2 separate regions of the Homo sapiens genome follow, and region 2 is linked to region 1. The links are contacts of gene promoters, found by promoter capture Hi-C in blood cells and fetal thymus (Javierre and others, 2016). All regions are on one chromosome and are shown on one strand. The core of a region is centred on a gene start or on the middle of the fragment in contact, and the rest is flanking DNA. Distances in the headings are between cores, read along the strand shown.

The links. Contacts are between HindIII fragments. The CHiCAGO score rates a contact against its expected background, and 5 or more counts as called.
Region 2: a fragment that was not itself captured here is called in contact with the fragment with the promoter of CARD11 in region 1 in 1 of 17 cell types (total CD8 T cells); the score reaches 5.3 in total CD8 T cells.

The regions. Positions count from the first base shown.
Region 1 is chr7:3,042,533-3,045,355 of GRCh38, forward strand. It overlaps CARD11 (caspase recruitment domain family member 11), which reads right to left and starts at 1,335. Exons shown (of 25, transcript NM_032415.7): 1 at 1,135-1,335. RefSeq lists a silencer at 1,048-1,397 and an enhancer at 1,263-1,557. The HindIII fragment of the contact is 15,618 bases long and covers 1-1,857 here.
Region 2 is chr7:3,117,592-3,120,414 of GRCh38, forward strand. It overlaps LOC105375130 (a long non-coding RNA gene), which reads right to left and starts at 443. Exons shown (of 2, transcript XR_007060191.1): 1 at 384-443. The HindIII fragment of the contact is 1,871 bases long and covers 316-2,186 here.

The DNA.
Region 1 (2,823 bases), core at 85-2,584:
CCGGAGTTTCCGCGAAAGCGCAGAAGTGGACACTTACGGAGAAATTCCTGTCCTCATATCAATTCCCGGCTCCCGGGATTTCCGGCACGCATTATGCACAGGCTGAGCGCTCAATAAATGTGGAATGAACGATCGACTATTTTTCTCCCCTTTCTGGTAGGTTGGTAACCTTATACCTTCAAGACGAGTCATAAATATTAGGAGAAAATGTTTTGAACTACAAATCAAAGGCTTTGAGAGCAGGCCAGGCAGAGAGAGGTCAGTTTGGTCCAAGACCAAGTTTGTGTGGGCAGCCCCGAAGCTCACAGCTGAGACCACTGTCCATGAACCTGGGTCCCCGTGACAGCCTCCAGCGGTGCTCAGAGCCCCCGAGGGACAGAAACACCCTCTCTGCCCCTATCTGCAGAGGGGGCTCAGCAGAAGGCCTGGTGGCCCCATCGGGCCTGGAGGGGCCTCCTGGGGGAGGTGGCTTTCAGGCCTGAGGCCGCTAGGACCTGCTCCGGGTTTCAGTCGGGAACCTGGGCCCTCTCCTGTGCCCCCGCCACCCCCTTTCTAGTACAGTCCCCGCGGGGGGCTGTCCTCTCCCATCTCCCAGCTCCACACCCACTTTTGGTGCGGCTGCCCTTCCTCCCTGAGCCAGGCCCCACCTTCCCAGGAGCCTCTGAGTCAGGCTGGGCTGTGGTCTGCAAACTTCCGGGCCTTTCAGGTGTCAGAAAAGTTTCTCTTCCTCCCTCTGGGGCAGGTGCACCAAGGGGCTGCAGCCTCCTGACCCCCGATTTTTTCCTGTCCAGTAGGAGGAGGTGGGGGCTTTGCTGGGCGGTGATACTCAGAGACGCTCAAAGAGACACGGAGGAGAGGCACACGAGGTGGAAAGTGAGGGAGAAAAAGGGTTGGAAGGGAAAAAGGGGAGAGGAGAGTGAGAGAGAGAAGGGGGGCAGGGGGACAGAGATGGAGAGGGAAGGATACCCCCAGCATCGCGGGACCAGCGGGAGCCACTCCCATCCCCCGACGCCCCCCCCGCCACCGTGTCATCTCACTGATGCCCCCCATCTCCTCCCCGTGCCCTCTTCTCTTCCCCCAACTCCCCGCCTCGTGCTCCCCCTCCGCCAGCTCCCCCATCCCCGCTGCGCCTACCTGGGGCGCTCATGCTCCGCCAGCCAGCTGCGCGGGGCGCCTCCTCCACGCAGGCCTCCGGCTTCCTCCAGGCGACCAGGCCCTCCGTCCCCCCGGGCCCGGAGCCGTCCTCCGAGGGGCGCCGCCCGCCCAGGGGCTGCAGGGCCGGGAGGGGGCTGCGGGCGGCGCGGGCAGGAGTCCGAAGGCCAGAGGAGGCAGGAGAGAAAAAAGGAGAGAAAGTATGTCATAGGCTGGGAGGGGCGGGGGAGGGAAATGCAAAACCCGACAGGAAATGAGACTAAAAAATGCGAAAGGTTAGAAAAAGATAAGGAAGAGAGGGAGGGGGCGGAGTCGGTGCTTCGGGAGGAGGGCGGCAAGGAGGTGGGGGTGGGAGTGGGGACAGGGCCGGGGGTGGGGGTGCTTGGGGACAGATCAGGGAGCCGGAGATGGGGAGACCAAGGCGAGTCTCAGGGCCCAGCCCACCTGCATCAGTCGGGGTGAGGCTGGACCAGTCTGGGCATCAGTCCCCACCCAGCCGTGACCCCCGGCAGAGTCCAGGTGGGGCCTTGGGAGGGGCTCTCTCCCTTCTAGGTTCTCCAGGGCACTGGCTCCCGAGATCTAGCTGAATTTCTGAAGAAATTCCAGAGCCTGTCACTGCAATGGGAGGGGAACGGGGTGCCCCACATCAAATCCTGCAGCCTCCTACACCCCAAGCCTCTTTCCTCCCTCAGCCCCTGTTCTGGAAGCTTCCTGGGCATGCCGGGTGGTCAGCACCCCTTCAAAGGCCTTCCTCACCCCGACAGCTTTGGGGTCCAAGACACCCACCATCAGCTTGTGCCCTCGATGTTCCGGTGAAGTATACTTGTAAGAGAAACTGTGATTTGGATGTCATCATTTTACTTTATTTTTATTTTTTGAGATGGAGTCTCGCTCTGTCACCCAGGCTGGAGTGCAGTGGCACAATCTCAGCTCACTGCAAGCTCCACCTCCTGGGTTCAAGCGATTCTCCCACCTCAGCCTCCCGAGTAGCTGGGACCACAGGCGTGCACCACCAAACTTGGCTAATTTTTGTATTTTTAGTAGAAATGGGGTTTCAACATGATGGCCAGGCTGGCCTCGAACTCCTGACCTCAAGTGATATGCCCACCTCAGCCTCCCAAAGTGCTGGGATTACAGGCATGAGCCTCTGCGCCCAGCTGGATGTCATCATTTTAATAATTTACCCCAAATGGCCATCGTCATGGGTGGGATGGTCCCAAGGGTTTACATGGATTGCAGACTCAAAAATCTGGATGAAAGAAAATGTGATACACACACACACGCCATGCAATACTACTCAGCCATAAAAAAGAACGAAATAAAGTATTTTGCAGCAACTTGGATGGAACTGGAGGCCATTATCCTAAGTGAAGTAACTCAGGAGTGGAAAACCAAATACTACATGTTCTTATTTAAAAGCGAGAGCTAAGCTATGGGTAGGCAAAGGCAGGCAGAGTGGGATCATGGACGTTGGAGACTCAGAAGGGGGAAGAATGGGAGGGGGTAGGGGATGAAAAATCACCTATTGGGTACAATGTATACTGTACAATGTGCACTATTCCAGTGACTGATGCACTAAAAGCCCAGACTTCACCACTATACGCTTCATCCACGTAACCCAAAACCGCAAGTACCCCTAAAGCTATTGAAATAAAAATCTGGATGAGCCAT
Region 2 (2,823 bases), core at 1-2,500, 75 kb after region 1:
GGGAGGGAGAGAGGGGGATGTTGAGAGATAAAGAGAGGGGGATGTTGAGAGATAAAGAGGGAGGGAGAGAGAGAGAGGGAGAGGGAAGAAGGAGGGGGAGAAGAGAGGGAAGAAGGAGGGGGAGAAGAGAGGGAAGAAAGGGGCGGTGCAGAAAGACGGAGGGGGAGAGGAGAGAGAAAGAGGGAGGGAGAGAGAGGAAAGCAGGGAGGAAGGGAAAGGGAGAGGTTAAAAGAGAGATTGAGAGAGGAGAGGCTTCCTAGCACTTCTCTCCTCCGAGCGCAGAGCCCTGTTAGAACAGCCTGTCTCCTTTCATGAAGCTTCTCTGCCACCTTCTCTCCCACCCTCCTGCATTTGTCCCTTTTGGAGACAGCACTGGAATTTACCTGGAATGAGCCTTCTCTCTGCTCCCCTTGCACACGGGCTGGCTGCCAGCAGCTTTCTCCACCAGCCTCCGACAGAAACCCTGCAGAGCTTCCATTCTGCGTTCAGCCACCATCGCCTCCCACCCAGTGGTTTCTAAACAATCTCTGAGCAAGATTTTGGTTTTATCAGCCTATTAACTTCTCCCTTTTTCATTTTGGGGAAGGGGTCCACCAACATTCATCTTGTGCTGAACAGGAGCTGTTTTCTGCTCAGCTCTTGTTCTTGGGTGACCTGGCATGGAGGGATATCTCCAGACCTTGGGGAGTCGTCAAATAAGCCTGGATCTGAGAACTGAGGGATGCTAGGGGTGACATCCACACTCAGGAGGGGTGAGGCAAATGCCCCCTTCATTGTGTTCTCATGAATCTGGTTCTTCCAAAGATTTTGTTTACTAAGTTGCATTTATTAAGAAATAATGCTTGTTTTGAAGAATATTATTATTATTTTTGAGACAGGGTATTGCTCCATTGCCCAGGCTGGAGTACAGTGGTGCAATCATGGTTCACTGTAGCCTTGACCTCCTGGGCTCAAGCAATCCTCCTGTCTCAGCCTCCTGAGTAGGTGAGACCACAGGTATATACACCACCATGCCTAGCTAATTAATTTTTTTTTTTTTTTGGTAGAGATAGGGTCTTGCTATGTTGCCAAGGCTGGTCTCAAATTCCTGGGCTCAAGCGATCCACCTGCCTCAGCACCCCCAAAGTGATGGTATTACAGGCATGGGCTACTGCACCCAACCAAAATTATTCTTATTAATCAAATATGTACATCAGGCAATCGGCTCTTCCACTAGCCAGAGCTAAGCAGTGTTTTCCATGAAGTGGATCTGATTCCAGTTGAAGGAATCTAATTAGGCTCTGTATTCTAATTAGGCTGAGTGGCATCAAGCTCTGTAAAAACACAGGGGCTTCCATTAGACTTTTGGAAATACAGAGGTAAGACTAAAAGTCCCATTGCTGTCTGTATGGATGCTGGGGTGGAGCCCAGCTTGGGATAGAAGATGTTAGTGACTCTGGAAGACAGAACTCCAGAAGAAAGGCTTAAAAGCCAGAGTTATTTTGCAGTTGAGGACTTGAAACCTCCACCAGTAAGCACACTATTTTGGTACAACTGAGTGATTAAGTTCTAAGGTTTAACATCCAACTTACTGGGTGCAAATCTCACGCTTGCCCCTTATTAGTTATGTACCCATGACCTCCCTGAACCTCAGTTTTCCCCTCTGTAAAATGAGGCTGATAATACTGCAACTTGAACCAGCTGGGGTGCATGCGGATGCAAAGAACATAAACACTGACGCAAACGGAGACAGCACCTTGTATATTTCCATTTCTAGGCAGTAGTGGCTTCATCATCACATCAAATTATTATTATTATTTGAGACAGAGTCTTGCTCTGTCACCCAGGCTGGAGTGCAGTGGCGTGATCTCAGCTCACTGCAACCTCCACCTCCTGGGTTCAAGCAATTCTCCTGCCTCAACCTCCCGAGTAGCTTGGATTACAGGCGCCCGCCACCACGCCCAGCTAATTTTTGTTTTTTTTAGTACAGACAGGGTTTTACTGTATTGGCCAGGCGGGTCTGAGACTCCTGACCTCATGATCTGCCCGCCTTGGCCTCCCCAAGTGCTGGGATTACAACCGTGAGCCACCGTGCCTGGCTGACATCAAATTATAATGTGGTTGTCAACCAGAACTGAAGTGAGAAGGCAAGCATGTGTCACTTCTGGAAACCCACACAGAAGCTAAAAAAAACCTCCTTTCCTAGAAGCTTCCATTAAAACCCTCCTCAGGGCTCATTGGTCTATTTTGCAAAGCTCATGTGGTCATCTCTGAATCCATCACAGTCTAGGGGATGAGACTACATTGGTCAGATTAGGCCTGAGCTATCTACCCCTTCTCTAGAGCCAGAGGTGGAGTTAGCTCCAAAGAATGTGCCTGAATGAAGGTTGGGAGACTCACAAAGATTTAGGAAGATAACACTGCAAAGCACTAGACACACAGGGAGCACTCCATAAGTGTGAGCTAATTACTGGCCATTATTGTCATCCTGGTGAAATCTGGTTAATCAAGAGTCTTATTCTACTGAAAATGTTTATGTCCATATGCCTCCATCATCCTCACCATCATGATCCCCATCATTATCATCATCCTCACCATCTTCTTCATCATCATCTTCACCGTCATGATCACCACCATCATCACCATCATCTTCATCACCATTCCCTCTTCATCATCATGTTCATCATCATCCTCACCATCATGATCATCATTATCATCGTCATCTTCACTGGCACCATCGTTGGCCAAGTGCCTACTGTGTGCTGCTGGCACCATTTCAGACACATTGCAAACCTATATCTAATCCTTGGGACAACTTGTGAAACAGGATATCACTAGTTGCCT